2 separate regions of the Homo sapiens genome follow, and region 1 is linked to region 2. The links are contacts of gene promoters, found by promoter capture Hi-C in blood cells and fetal thymus (Javierre and others, 2016). All regions are on one chromosome and are shown on one strand. Each heading gives the region's core, a stretch centred on a gene start or on the middle of the fragment in contact. The rest is flanking DNA. Distances are from core to core; before and after follow the strand shown. Region 1 overlaps FNIP1 (folliculin interacting protein 1). Region 2 holds the start of ACSL6-AS1 (ACSL6 antisense RNA 1).

Region 1 (6,313 bases), core at 3,525-6,024, 230 kb before region 2:
TCCAACTAGTAAATTTCAGAAACCTAATCTTTTTCTAAGTCTGCAGATTAATATTCCCTTTCCTCTATTCTATAGTGTTACTGCTTTTTCTTTTTTTTTTTTCTTTTGAGACACGGTCTCACTCTGTCACTCAGGCTGGAATAGTGTAACCTTGAACTCCTGGGCACAAGTGATCCTTCTGCCTCAGCCTCCAAGTAGTGAGGACTACAGAAAGGGTCTTGCTATGTGGCCCAGGCTGGTCTCAAACTCCTGGTCTCAATCAATCCTCCTGCCTTGGCTTCCCAAAGTGCTGAGATTACAGGCATCAGCCACTGCAGCTGGCCTGTAGTTTTTAAAGCCCTGCCCCTACTTATCTTTAACAAGCAGAGACTTCTCCAATCCAAATGTTTAAATTTCCCCGGTCCCAATCTACAATTCAGTTGAATGCTGGTTAAATCTCCTTCTAAGTTATTTAGCCAGGAAGCAGTCAAGCCCAAATGTCATAGTCTAGAAGGTTTCTGTACTGGTCAGGGTTCTCTAGAGAGGTGGAAACAACAGAATATATATACAGATATATGAGAGGGGATTTATTAGGAAAATTGGCTCATGAGATTACAGAGGCTGAGAAGTCCCATGACAGGCCATCTGCAAGGTGGAGACCCGAGATGCAAGCAGCATGGCTCAGTCCAAATCCAAATACCTCAGAACCAAGGAAACCAATGGTGTAATTCTCAGTCTGAGGCCAAAGGCCTAAGAACCTGGTGAGCCACTGGTATAGGTCTTTGAGTTCAAAGGCCAGACAGCCTGGAGTTCTAATGTCCAAAGGCAGGACAATGTTCCAGCTCCAGAAGAAAGACAGAGGAAATCCCATTTCCTCTGCCTTTTTTTTGTTCTGTCTAGGCCCCCAGCCAACTGGATGGTGCCTATCTATGTTGAGGGCTGATCTGCACTCCGTCCACAGACTCCCACACCAAATCTCCTCGGGAAACACTCTTCACAGACACACTCAGAAACAATGCTCTTCCAATTTCCAGGTATTCCATAATCCAGTCAGGCTGAGACCTAACATTAACCACTACGGCTTATATCACTGCAACTCTACTGCACTCCACTTGAAAGTATCTCCTACTATCAGGCTTAAAAGAAATTTTCTTGGCCAGGCGTGGTGGCTCACGCCTGTAATCCCAGCACTTTGGGAGGCCGAGGTGGGCAGATCACGAGGTCAAGAGATCAAGACCATCCTGGCCAACATGGTGAAACCCTGTCTCTACTAAAAATACAAAAATTAGCTGGGCATGGTGTGCACCTGTAGTCCCAGCTACTCGGGAGGCTGAGGCGGGAGAATCGCTTGAACCTGGGAGGCGGAGGCTGCAGTAAGCCAAGATTGCACCACTGCACTCTAGCCTGGTGACAGAGTGAGATTCTGTCTCAAAAAAAAAAAAAAAAAAAAAAAAAAAAAGAAAAGAAATGTTCTTAAGCAGGTAGGACCATCAGTGACAAGACATCATTTTGTACCAGTTTCTATATAATTCAATTTGATCTTGTAAGCTGTGGAAATTCCTTCCAGATTGACAACTGGTTAATCACAAATTAACCTAAATACCATAGGAAGAAGCTGTAAGAGATAATGAATGTAATAAAACTTCAACCACTTTGCTAAACAAGTGAGTAAATGCCTATTTCAAGGAGTACCATTTTAATGCTGGAAGCCTGTATATATAGTAATCATTTTTCTATCTAAGGAATTATAATTCTCTAATCTGACAGGAAAATAATTCCATGACTGATTTGCTAATCTCAGTTCCAAAGACTTTAGTTATCAATTTAGGACTTATTTGTATCACAAAATCTTGATTAATATTTATATAGGCTGTTTATATCCAATTATTTTTCTCTAACTACATCTTAATATACTAAATGTTGTAAGAACACTAATCTTTAGACTTATTTTGTCACAATAAATTCAACTATACTCAGGGTATTAATGTAATTCTAGTGACTGTAATTTACATTTCAATGACAGGGATAGTCAGCTGCTTGGCCATAGTATTACTATCATCATTTAATCAAATTAGATGTGAAAAAAATACCATAACAAAAATATAAACTATTACCAGCATTAAAGTTCCAAAATTCATTTATATTTATTGTACAATTTAACATGCATAAAATTATATGCACAAAAAATTCATTAACATGAATTCTTGGTAAAAATGGCACATTGGCAAATAGTAGATTTCTACACCATAAGAGCTATCATGTATCATAATATGCTATCATATTTACTTAGTATTTTTCAGCAATACGTATACCTAATTGAAATGTACCTGGCCTATGTGGTTTAACTTTCTGACATTAACTCTATATACCTGTGAACTTAAAAACTACAGCAAAACACTGGAAGAATGTTAAATGAGCTAAAACAATAGAGACCCAGTATCCAAGTTGTTTAACTGGGTCATACACAGTTTTTTTTTTTTTTTAAAAAGGGGGGAACTTGTATAATGTGACTTATTTAAAATAAAAAAACAGGCCAGCATGGTGGCTCATGCCTGTAATCCCAGCACTTTGGGAGGCTGATGCGGTTGGACCACCTGAGGTCAGGAGTTCAAGACCAGCCTGGCCACCATGGTGAAGCCCCATCTCTACTACAGATACAAAAATTAGCCAGGGGTAATGTAATCCCAGCTACTCGGGAGCCTGAGGCAGGAGAATTGCTTGAACCCGGGAGGCTGAGGTTGCAGTGAGCCAAAATTGTGCCACTGCACTCCAGCGTGGGCGAGAGAGCAAGACTTCGTCTCAAAAACTAATAATAAAATAAAATAAAATAAAAACAATGTACCTAAATTAGTATAAGGCCATTACTAATTCAAATTATTTAACTCAAATGACTAAGTGGGGACACACATTTAAGGTGTTCACAAAGCATCAAAAATAATTCTAAATAAATTCAGGTCCATGTCAGTAAAATTAGAGAATACCGTTAACTATAAAAATAACTGGATTATGATCAATACACTAATACAATGTCAAGCTTTTAATTTACATTTTACTTATAAATATATATATGGGATACAAACAGAAAAGCACACTGCTTTCCAAAAATCTGCAGTGAAGGTTCCCATGTAAACATACCAAGAAAGAAGAGCAACAAATGGCAGAAAGAGAATCATAAAATAAACATAAACCAAGGACTAACATACTGTACAGTATTTATGAATTACATATTTTAAAACAATAATTAATACTTGCTTAAAACATTTTCAAGAAGTCATTCTAATAATTAAGGTTATTATCATAATTTAACTTTCAATAAAATAAGTATCTAAAATCTTGGCATTTAAAATTTTCAGATATTTTAAAGCAAATATATCACCAAATTAATAACTAGATTTGGATTATTTTGATGTTAACACACTTGAATATCACATTAAGTTAAGCTCTACATTAGTGGCATCCTATTTCTCTTAAGCAGTTCCACTTTTCAAAATCCCTAAAAACTCCAGTCATGCACAACTGTCAACCCAGGTTAATAACAGCAATGAACCATATTTATCTGAAACCACAAGACTGTCAGATGACATACCAAGAAGTCTGAATTTAACTCAAATAAAAGGCTCTCCATGCTGCAATGCAAAAAGGCTTAATCCCAGCAATGGAACCATGAGGGACCGGGAGCCTTTAAGAAATCTGTTGCCCATGACAAAATCTGTTTTTGCAAAAGGCTCCATCTATCCAGTCCTACCATTTCACAAGTAACATCCTGCTTTTTTGTTTCACTGAAGAGTCTGGGATTTTTACAGAAGCAATTACGACTGCTTTTCAATTCCTTTATCTCTTCTACTATAAGTACATGACTACGAGAAAATCAATCTAAGTATTCTGTTCAACTAAGTGCTGTCCTGGCAGCTAGTGCAGACCAGAAATGCCAATGTATGTATTTTTTAAGGATGCTTTAACTAAACAAGGTCTGGTCCAGAGTAAGAGTGCTCAGGCAACCAATGGCTTAGAACCCAGGTCTTCAACAATCCGTATCTATAACAAATTGAGGTTCATGCAGTAAACAAGAAAACACAATAGTTCCTTTCTCAACTTCTGTATGTCCCAACTCTGCTATTTCAGACAAGTCCACATACACATTCCTGGAAGCCATAGCAAGCTTGTATTCTACCCAGCTGACAAGCAAGTTGAAAAGCAGGCCCTAATGATCACAGGGCCCAGACTGGTCAGTATGTAAACTGGCTCACTAATCTGAACTCTTGTGTTGAGTTCAAGTAGACAAGTCTAGCAGAAAATACTGCCTTTTAATTTATAAACCTCAATAAGACTACCATATTGTAATACATTAAGTAGCTGGTTCATGAAATAGAGACATTTTAGAATGCTTTACAAGCACTGTCTTTCAGTGGGTTTGTATTTTAATATGTATCAGCATGTTCTTTTAGAAAAACCAAGGGGTGCATCTGTGTATGTATCCCGATAGGACTAATTCACTAACAGAAATGCGTTAATACAATGGGCTATTAATCTATAAGGTAACAGACAATATGCTGAAACCAAGAATCATTCCTCACACCCAACATGCCAAAAACAGAAGAATGGGCTCTGAATCAGCCAAACTTAGATTTAAATTCCAACTGTGCCACATACTGATTCTCTGTGATTGTAGAGAAGTGCCTTAACTTCTCTAGTCCTCAATTACTTGTCTATAAAGTAAGACTACCTCTAAGATTGGTATAGGGATAATGTTTCTCTCTTCAACCCTTAGAATGTGCATCACACACATCAAGATCTCCAAAGTGATTATCACGTGAAGAAAAGCAAAATTCAAAACTGTATGTATACCATCAGTGTAGAGGCAAACAAACATATCAGTTTGTTTGTATGTGCACCAAACATTTTCAGGAAAGATGAATTAGAAACAATACAAAGATATAAATTCTTTTTTTTATTATTATACTTTAAGTTTTAGGGTACATGTGCACATTGTGCAGGTTAGTTACATACGTATACATGTGCCATGCTAGTGCGCTGCACCCACTAACTCGTCATCTAGCATTAGGTATATCTCCCAACGCTATCCCTCCCCACTCCCCACAACAGTCCCCAGAGTGTGATGTTCCCCTTCCTGTGACAAAGACATAAATTCTAACTAGTAAACTCAGAATTAACTATTAAAAGATGTAACCCCAAGGAAAAGAAAATTGGAGAAAGGGAAACATCTATGCTTTCTACATTATGATTGTCTGTACCTCTAGTCTGATACTAAAACTTCACATTCATTTCAAGAAGCACTTCTTTGAATCCCCAGGATTGTATATCCTTTCCTCCAAGGAATACAAAATAGCTTAATAACCATCATACTCTTAAGGCAGAACATGATTTGTTTTTCCACTGAAGGGTTTCAGGATAGGAAAGAACTGGCCAGAGAAAAGCTTGATGCCCACTAGCTTGAAAACCAGCAAAGTGCCACAAAACTAAGAAACAATGGATGAAAAAGGAACATGTTCCAAAACAGGAAAACCAGTATTTGAATTAATTAGAAGTTTACTTCTCTAAAGTCAACCTACTAAGTCTACTCATCCAGACACTCAGATCAAAAATCTGTAAGTCCTCTCAATTCACTTATAACAGCACCCAATCATACTAGTTCTCCTTTTACCTTAAAGAAAAAAGCGTTCCTCTCCCTCTCCACGTCTACAGAGTTGATCCATCCCTTCTAGTCTCCTGTTAAATCTTCCCTATTCCTTATACCTCTGATTTGTTTCTTTCACCTATTTATCTTTAAAAAGTTTTACGTTACTGTCACATTTACCTTCCCTTCTAAACCAAACATGAAAAACAGTCCTAAGCACAGCCTCTTATGTTCCATTCCACCTACGCACATTTGACACTATGACCTCCTTGCACTCTACTCCCTAGTACCATTATCTCATACCATGAGACGGGAGTCCAAGAAATTACCATTTCCTGGCTATCCTTCTGAATTCAGATATATTAGGGTTTGTAGCCCAGGTAGGTGTGTTTCTTAAAACCTTCACACATACAAAGGAATACTACTTTGCAACAAAAATACACTACTGATACATGGAGGAATAACATGCATAGAGGAATGTCAAAGGCATTTATACTAAGTGAAAGAACCTGATACAAAAGGCTACACAATGTATGATATCATTTATAAGACATTCTGGAAAAGGCCAAACTGTAGGGATAAAAATCACATCAGTTCTTGCCAGGGGCTCGATGTGGGGGAGAAGAGAATCACTAAAAGGTACAGGGAACTTTCTGGGGTAATATTCTATATCTCAACTGTAGTGTTGGTTATATGACT
Region 2 (6,598 bases), core at 3,439-5,938:
GAGGCTCTCCATGATCCTCGGATTCTTCCCTCCCCTTTGAATCACTCCAGCTTCCTCTGTATCAGCCTCTCTAATAGGGGTTCATATGATGGAGTTCTGGGCCTCTGCAAACTTCTGAGGTCTTCAAAACGGGTGGGGAAGCTCAAGCCCAGCCACCAAATCATCAAAGAATCTCCTCAACTCCAAGTGAAGAGCTCTGAAAAGAAAACTACAACCTCTCCCAGGGCCCAGGGACCCTAGCAAACGAGCTTGGGAGAGGACCCAAAGTGGGTATTCTGGGTATTCCGGTGCTGAACTGACCTGGGTCCAAATCATGACTCAGTCTCTTGATAGCTGTGTGGCCTTGGGCAGGTCACTTTGCCCCTCTGGGCCTCATCTCAAACAAGCTCATGGACAGAGAGTGCAGTGCCAGGCATGTAGTAAGGGAAACACTTAGTAGATAGCAAGTAGCTGAAGCAGTTACTCCATCTCTTTGCAAGCCAAAGGGGCTCAAAGACAACTTGCACAAGTAGATGCATTCACACCCTACCTTTCCAGCAGGCTCCTGGCACTGAGGAGGCGGCTGAGCTCGTCCCACTAGAACCAGCCTCCCTTTATAGGGCCTGTGGGGCCCAGGGAAAGAAGTTACCACATCTTGATCAAAGCACAAAAGTGGCGAAGGCCCTGCCCCGAGTCTGCCCTCCTGGGGACAGTCGATGGCAACAGCCGCCTGCTCTGAGAAGCCGGGTGGTGGTAGAGCCGTTAGCAGTGGTAGCACAGGCTCCCTGGTGGCTGTGGGAGCAGGTCTGGCAGGGAACAGGGCACACAGCAGTTCTGTAAGGAGTTGCTGGCCCCTCAAGGCCCCCGCCAGCCCCACCTCCATCTGCATGCAGGGCGGTGCTGGCTCAGATCAGCTCAGAGCCAAGCAACCCAGCCTTAACCCTCACCCTGCCAGCGTGCCAGAGCCTCAGCTTACACCCCCCTGCTTTTCCCCTCACCCCACCCTGTTTGCAGTTCTGAAAGGGAGTTTGCCAAGTGGGTTTCTTAAGAACAAAGTCTCCTTACACATCCATTTGAGACAATGATTAGGGCCAGGCCTTTGCTGTGGGCTTGGGACTGCAGTGAGCATGAGTTTATGTGTGTAGGGGGTGGGGGGTGACAGGAAGTAGTGGGGAGTAGGGGATGGGGATGCTAGCTCTCTGGCACTGAGGGCGACTGTACCATCTACCCGGGAGATTCTGCCTCCAGCCTCTCCCAGGGGCTGCCTCTGCTCCCCACCCCCACAAGGTCACAGCCAATCTACTTGGGAAGAGGAAAGAAATGGCACAGTTCCAGATAAAACATCTGCTTAGGGATGCTCTGGGGAGTGAGGACACTCTGGACCAAGGATCAGAGCCAGCAGGTGGAAGATAGTGGCTGATCTCCACCACAAGACCCCAGGGCAGCACACCAGCCCTGCTCTCATGCCTGCACTAAGAGATACTGTTGCCTAGTTTGCATGGGAATGGTCACCCTGGAGCCAGAACCCACACCCTTGCCTATTAGGACCGAAGCTGAGCTCTGAAGTCCTGCAGCACCTCTGCCAGACTGAGAGACTGAGGTCCCAGGGGCTCTCGGGGGTCTCACTACTGCAAGATCTGTGAGGCTTAGGGGTGTGGGTGGCTACTTCCATAGCATTTTCACTACTATTTCCATGGCTAACATGTGGCTGAGCACACAAGTATGATCACTGCGTATTTTGAATTGGACACTCATTCTGATCATAAGGTAGACAGCTAGACTCATGGTGGCACCTGCTAATAAGTAAAAGACAAGTCTAGGCCACAGGAGCCAGCTTACTACCACCCCCAGGCCCTACCCACATCAGGTGCTTCTGGGCAATTACGAGTCTGCCTGCACTGGGCCACTGTCCACCCAAATTTAACCCTGCTCCCTTGCTGCAAGAATGTCCCAGGACAGGACCCAGTGCTCTGAGCTCCCTCTTGAAAGCTGTTTGCCCAATTGCCTGGCAAGTCTAGAGCCCACAGGCTTGCAACACCTTCCCTGGAGCAGATAACAGCTTCCACTACTCACCCTACCATCTGGGTGAGCCATGAGAAGAGCGTCCTGCCTCAGCGACCCTCATCTGGAACTTGGCCCTAGCTTCCCCCAACCCACCCCGATTAAAATGAACGAATATCTGAGCACCCCCGATCAGCCCACAAAGTCACTTCACCTTTCTTCTAGGCAGGACCCTTACTTTTCTCCAAATATCTTCAGAGATGCTTTTAATATGAAAGCTTCCTTTAATGCTTCTCAAGGCAGCCTCTGGGGCAGGAAATCCAGTGGTCTGTGGGAAATCCCACAGAGTGCCAGAGGCATAGAGCTGAGGGAGTAGTTTCACCCCAAGCAGTGTGCAGCCCAGTTGCCAGGTTGAGAAATGCACAGCCTTCACCATCACACATGTACAACCCTGACCTGCAGAGGTGCAAACACAGCAGCGCACACTTGCCCAACACCTGCCCTCTCCACACAGGGATTCAAGCTTCTCTCTGCTGTGAGAGAAGGGTTTGCTCTCCATTTTCCTCTTGGGTTTTAATTAGATTCACAGAACCACATAAGACCAGGGCAGAAATGGAGCAAAGAGCCTCCCTGACTTGGGAATTGCCAGGTGGGACCCACTGTACATCCCCCATGAGATAGAGGCCCAGGATACGATACGGGGTTGCCAGGTTACATGGTGGCTCACCTGCCAAGCTTCCCCAAGGAGCCTGATCATAGCTCTGATGGTTCAATTAAGCCCCTTGAATGTAGAAAGGCCCAGCTAAGGCTGGCTGTGACTGAGTACTTTACAGAGCCACCTGTTGCAACTAGCCCAAGCTCACTGTGAGCATGCCTCCCTTTAGCAGCCTCCACTGCCCGCTGGCCTCCCCATCCTCATGACAGTACCTCTCAAAAATCTCACTCACCCTAAGCCCTGCTCAGGGAATGTGGGTCCACATTCCTGATGCTAGCACCAGGAAGCCAGGCACAAACAATGCTTTCAGGAACTTTAAAATATGAATAGCCTTGAGAACAGAGGAGCAAACAGATACACAGTGTCTTTCACACGCTCTGAGATAAACGTTGCCCTCACCATGAATTAGGCAGGACAAAGTTCTCAGAGCAAAGAGGGACAGCAGGGGCTAAAAAAACAGCAGTAGTCCCTTTGGAAATATTTACAGGGTATGATAACCAGGACTGATGGTGTGGACGAGTTCAGATCCTTCCACGCCAAGCCCTGGGACAGCAGGCAGGACCCTAGGAATACTGACCAGGGTCACCATCACCTCACAGGCACAGGGACACTCCCTGGCCAGGCCCTCCTGTGCAGGAAGCCAAATCCTGTGGCTGTAACACGATCCTTTGCCTTTCCGGCCATGTCCACGTTAGGACTGCTGGTGTCCCGGCCTCAGGAGCAATGATTCATTTCTGCCACTGGCTCAAACTTAGGACACACTGCAAACTAAGCTTGAACCAGTAAAGGGCATATGGGCTGCTCATGGCGAGGCCATGCACTCAGAGCTCAACTGCAGGTGGCTGGGGTACAAGCAGGATGGGATGCGACCTCCTCCAGCTAGAGGGAAGCTCCTTGAAGTAGGGAGGGTCCTGCCAATATATGGTTGGGGGTCACTGAGGTGGGGGGAGCAACAGAGGGATTTGCTTGCCTGCTTGTTCACTTAGGAGCCCTGCTGGTCTCCTGGGGACACGTGCTAGGGGAGAAATGCACAAAAGACAGAACCTGAGACATCCTTAGCCAGGGAGGGAGAACAAGGAGAGGATCCGAGCTGGGTGGGAAAGGGTAGAGAACAGGGCTATCGAAGAGGGACAGAAGTGGGTTGGTAAGTCACAGGAAGAGCCTGTAAGATGTTGGGGCCCCTGGCAGGAGCCCTCACACAGTGGCGGGAAGGAGGCAGAGGCCTGTCTGCACTGAGGACTGGGGCAGGAAGCTGAGGCTGGCAGGATGGCACTTAGCTATGGGAGAAAGGAAAAAGATGGTGATGGGTACTGTATATCTGCCTCATGCCTTCAGAGTCACAGCCCACAAGCTAATGGCACTCAGCCCTGGGGATGCAAAAGTGCCCCAGGCAAGCTGTGCTCCTACATCCTTGGCAAAGGGATTGCTGCTGCAGCCAGGATCCGGCATGGCTCCTTCACCTACCATTCCAGAGTCACTGAATTTTTTTGTAGACTAGAAAGTGAGCAAGACAAAAAGAGTTTTGCCCTTGGTTAAGGGCACATTTTCTGGCAAATTTGGTAAATAGCTGAATATTCTGGCATCCCCATAGTCTGACAAAATTCCTCTTCTGAATGCCTCAAGAAGAAACAAATCTGAATTTCCTCCAGTTTAGCAAAAGGCTGTGCTGGTCAACGGGAATCTGCCACCTCCTGAATCCCCCCTCTGGAGGTCAGGCGGCACAGCAGCTGCAGCCTTAAGCTGCTCTCCCTCCGGCAGCAAGCGGTCAAGTTCTGCTGTTGGCCTGTGAGAGCCTACAGTGTCCACAGAGTTAACATTAGACTGGAGCGGCCCAGCCCTCAGCGGGCAGGAGCACTGGGAACTCAGGCCTCCTTTTCAAGGCCAGGATGAATGGGAAATATGCAAATGGCCGCCTCCCAGGAGCGGCAGGGGAGGGCCTGCTGCTGGCAGGAGGGCATCACTCCACTTGGGTCTGTCACATGAAAGGGTTTGTATTCCTGCCGCTGGCCGGCTCCTGGCCAGGCTGGGGCTGTTCTCACCAGAAAACAAAAATGTCTTTCAGACCAAAGCAAAACGAGGCCCCAGCTGGCCCAGGCAGGCCATTGGGCGTTGTTCACACTGACCCACTATGAACACCAATCACTGGGGCTCTCACTTTGCACCCACTGGAAGGAACCCATCATCTTTGGAGACGGAACTGGAGGCCTCGGTGGCTGCTGAGGAAAGCACTACGTAAGTTCGGGGGGATGGAGGTGGGATCCAGAAAGAGGGTCAGCCCCCTCTGAGGCTCTGTTGGTTTTGTGCTTTTCGAAAACAGTAGTGGCGGAATCTGGAGTAGCACCCTTTTTTTGGATAAGGAAACTTCAGTTATTCTCACAGTGTTGATGGTAAACATGGAGAAAGAAATGGGAAGAAAAAAGTGCTGGTACACAAGAAGACCCTGCAGTGCACAGAGAGGACTTTCAATAATGGAGGGCACGTGTGTCCTCTGCCTGGTGCCCACACTCCTGCTGCCACAAGTGCCCTCGAGTGGGAGGTGGGGATAAGGGCAGCCCAGAGCCCCATGTGCGGGATCACTAGCTTCCAGGGCTGGGGCTCCTTCTTCAACCAAGGCTCCATGCCAAGGTCAGGCTTCTATCCTTTTTTTTTTTTTTTGGCTGACTTTCAGCAGCCAGAACACTGCTTCTCTGACACCCCATGGTCACCAGGAGCTGCCTATTAACCACAGCACAGACCTTGTGCCCTGTGGAGCATGGATGCCACTCAGACTCCCACTACCAGGAGAAATAGCACAGCAAGATCTCAAGCACACATGTGGCCGTTGAGCCTGAGAGGACATCTAGGACAAAACCACTTTGGAGTTGATTTTGAACCAACAGGTGGGTTGGTGGATGCTCCACAGATCTCCTGAAATCCAAGGGAGATATGTCTTGTCAGCCTCTGGGGCTAAAGGAAACTGGTATTCGTTTGGGCCACACAGTATCTTCATGAAGCCAAGGTGCCAGGCATGTCTCTGTGAGAGGTCATGGAACTGTCCAGGGAGCAGAAGCAGGAGACAGAGGAGACAGGACACTTCAGAATGACCTAGAAAAGTTGGTTCCACAGGTCATAGCCTTCCATATCTGGTCTGTGGCAAGGAGATCGGGGACACATGCACCCAAATCCCCTACCAGCCTACTGGATGGGGGAAGGCCCAACCTCCATTTCTCTCTAAACCCTCCCTGCCACCACAGACAGACCTAGGCTTAGGGGAGTTGGCCTACAGAATATGCATGAGTTGGCTGGGCATGGTGGCTCACACCTGTAATCCCAGCACTTTGGGAGGCTGAGATGGGTGGATCACCTAGATCACCTGAGGTCAGGAGTTTGAGAACAGCCTGGCCAATGTGGTGAAACCCCGTCTCTACCAAAAATACAAAAAAATTAGCCGGGTGTGGTGGCAGGCACCTGTAATCCCAGCTACATGGGAGGCTGAGGCAGGAGAATCACTTGAACCCAGGAGGCAGAGGTTGCAGTGAGCCAAGATCACGCCATTGCACTCCAGCCTGGGCAACAACAACAAAGCTCTGTCTCAAAAAAAAGAAAAAAGAAAAAAAAATGCGTGAGTTGAAGGTGTCCTCAGAGAATCACATCCAGCCCATCTGCTGGAAAGCACAGTCACGATGAACACTGAAGTTCTCCAGCCACTAAGCAGGGTCCTGGGGTCTATGTGGCTTCATGCAGCATCAGCTCTAGTGGCAGGGCAGAGTGGCCAGAGCTTCCCTTCCAAAGCAGAGGGGTCACTGCAGGCCTGGATGGGTCTCCACTGAGTCTACTTTCTCCATACTGACAATTGTCTTCCTCTCACTGGCCTAAAGGCCTTAAGGCCTTACTCCAGCCAACCTCCCTGTCCAATCTCACTGG

Evidence for each region. The method cuts DNA at HindIII sites, captures the fragments that hold promoters and counts their contacts. A CHiCAGO score of 5 or more calls a contact.
Region 1: a fragment that was not itself captured here is called in contact with the fragment with the promoter of ACSL6-AS1 in region 2 in 7 of 17 cell types (M1 macrophages, total CD4 T cells, total CD8 T cells and 4 more); the score reaches 9.6 in M1 macrophages.

What each region holds. Positions count from the first base shown.
Region 1 is chr5:131,766,019-131,772,331 of GRCh38, forward strand. The region is part of intron 1 of FNIP1 (folliculin interacting protein 1); the gene reads right to left. Among named protein-coding and RNA genes, the nearest start is that of FNIP1, 28 kb to the right of the region's middle. The HindIII fragment of the contact is 1,276 bases long and covers 4,137-5,412 here.
Region 2 is chr5:131,998,885-132,005,482 of GRCh38, forward strand. ACSL6-AS1 (ACSL6 antisense RNA 1) reads left to right here and starts at 4,689. Exons shown (of 2, transcript NR_183256.1): 1 at 4,689-4,927. The region is part of intron 1 of ACSL6 (acyl-CoA synthetase long chain family member 6); the gene reads right to left. RefSeq lists an enhancer at 2,870-3,465. The HindIII fragment of the contact is 3,713 bases long and covers 3,467-6,598 here.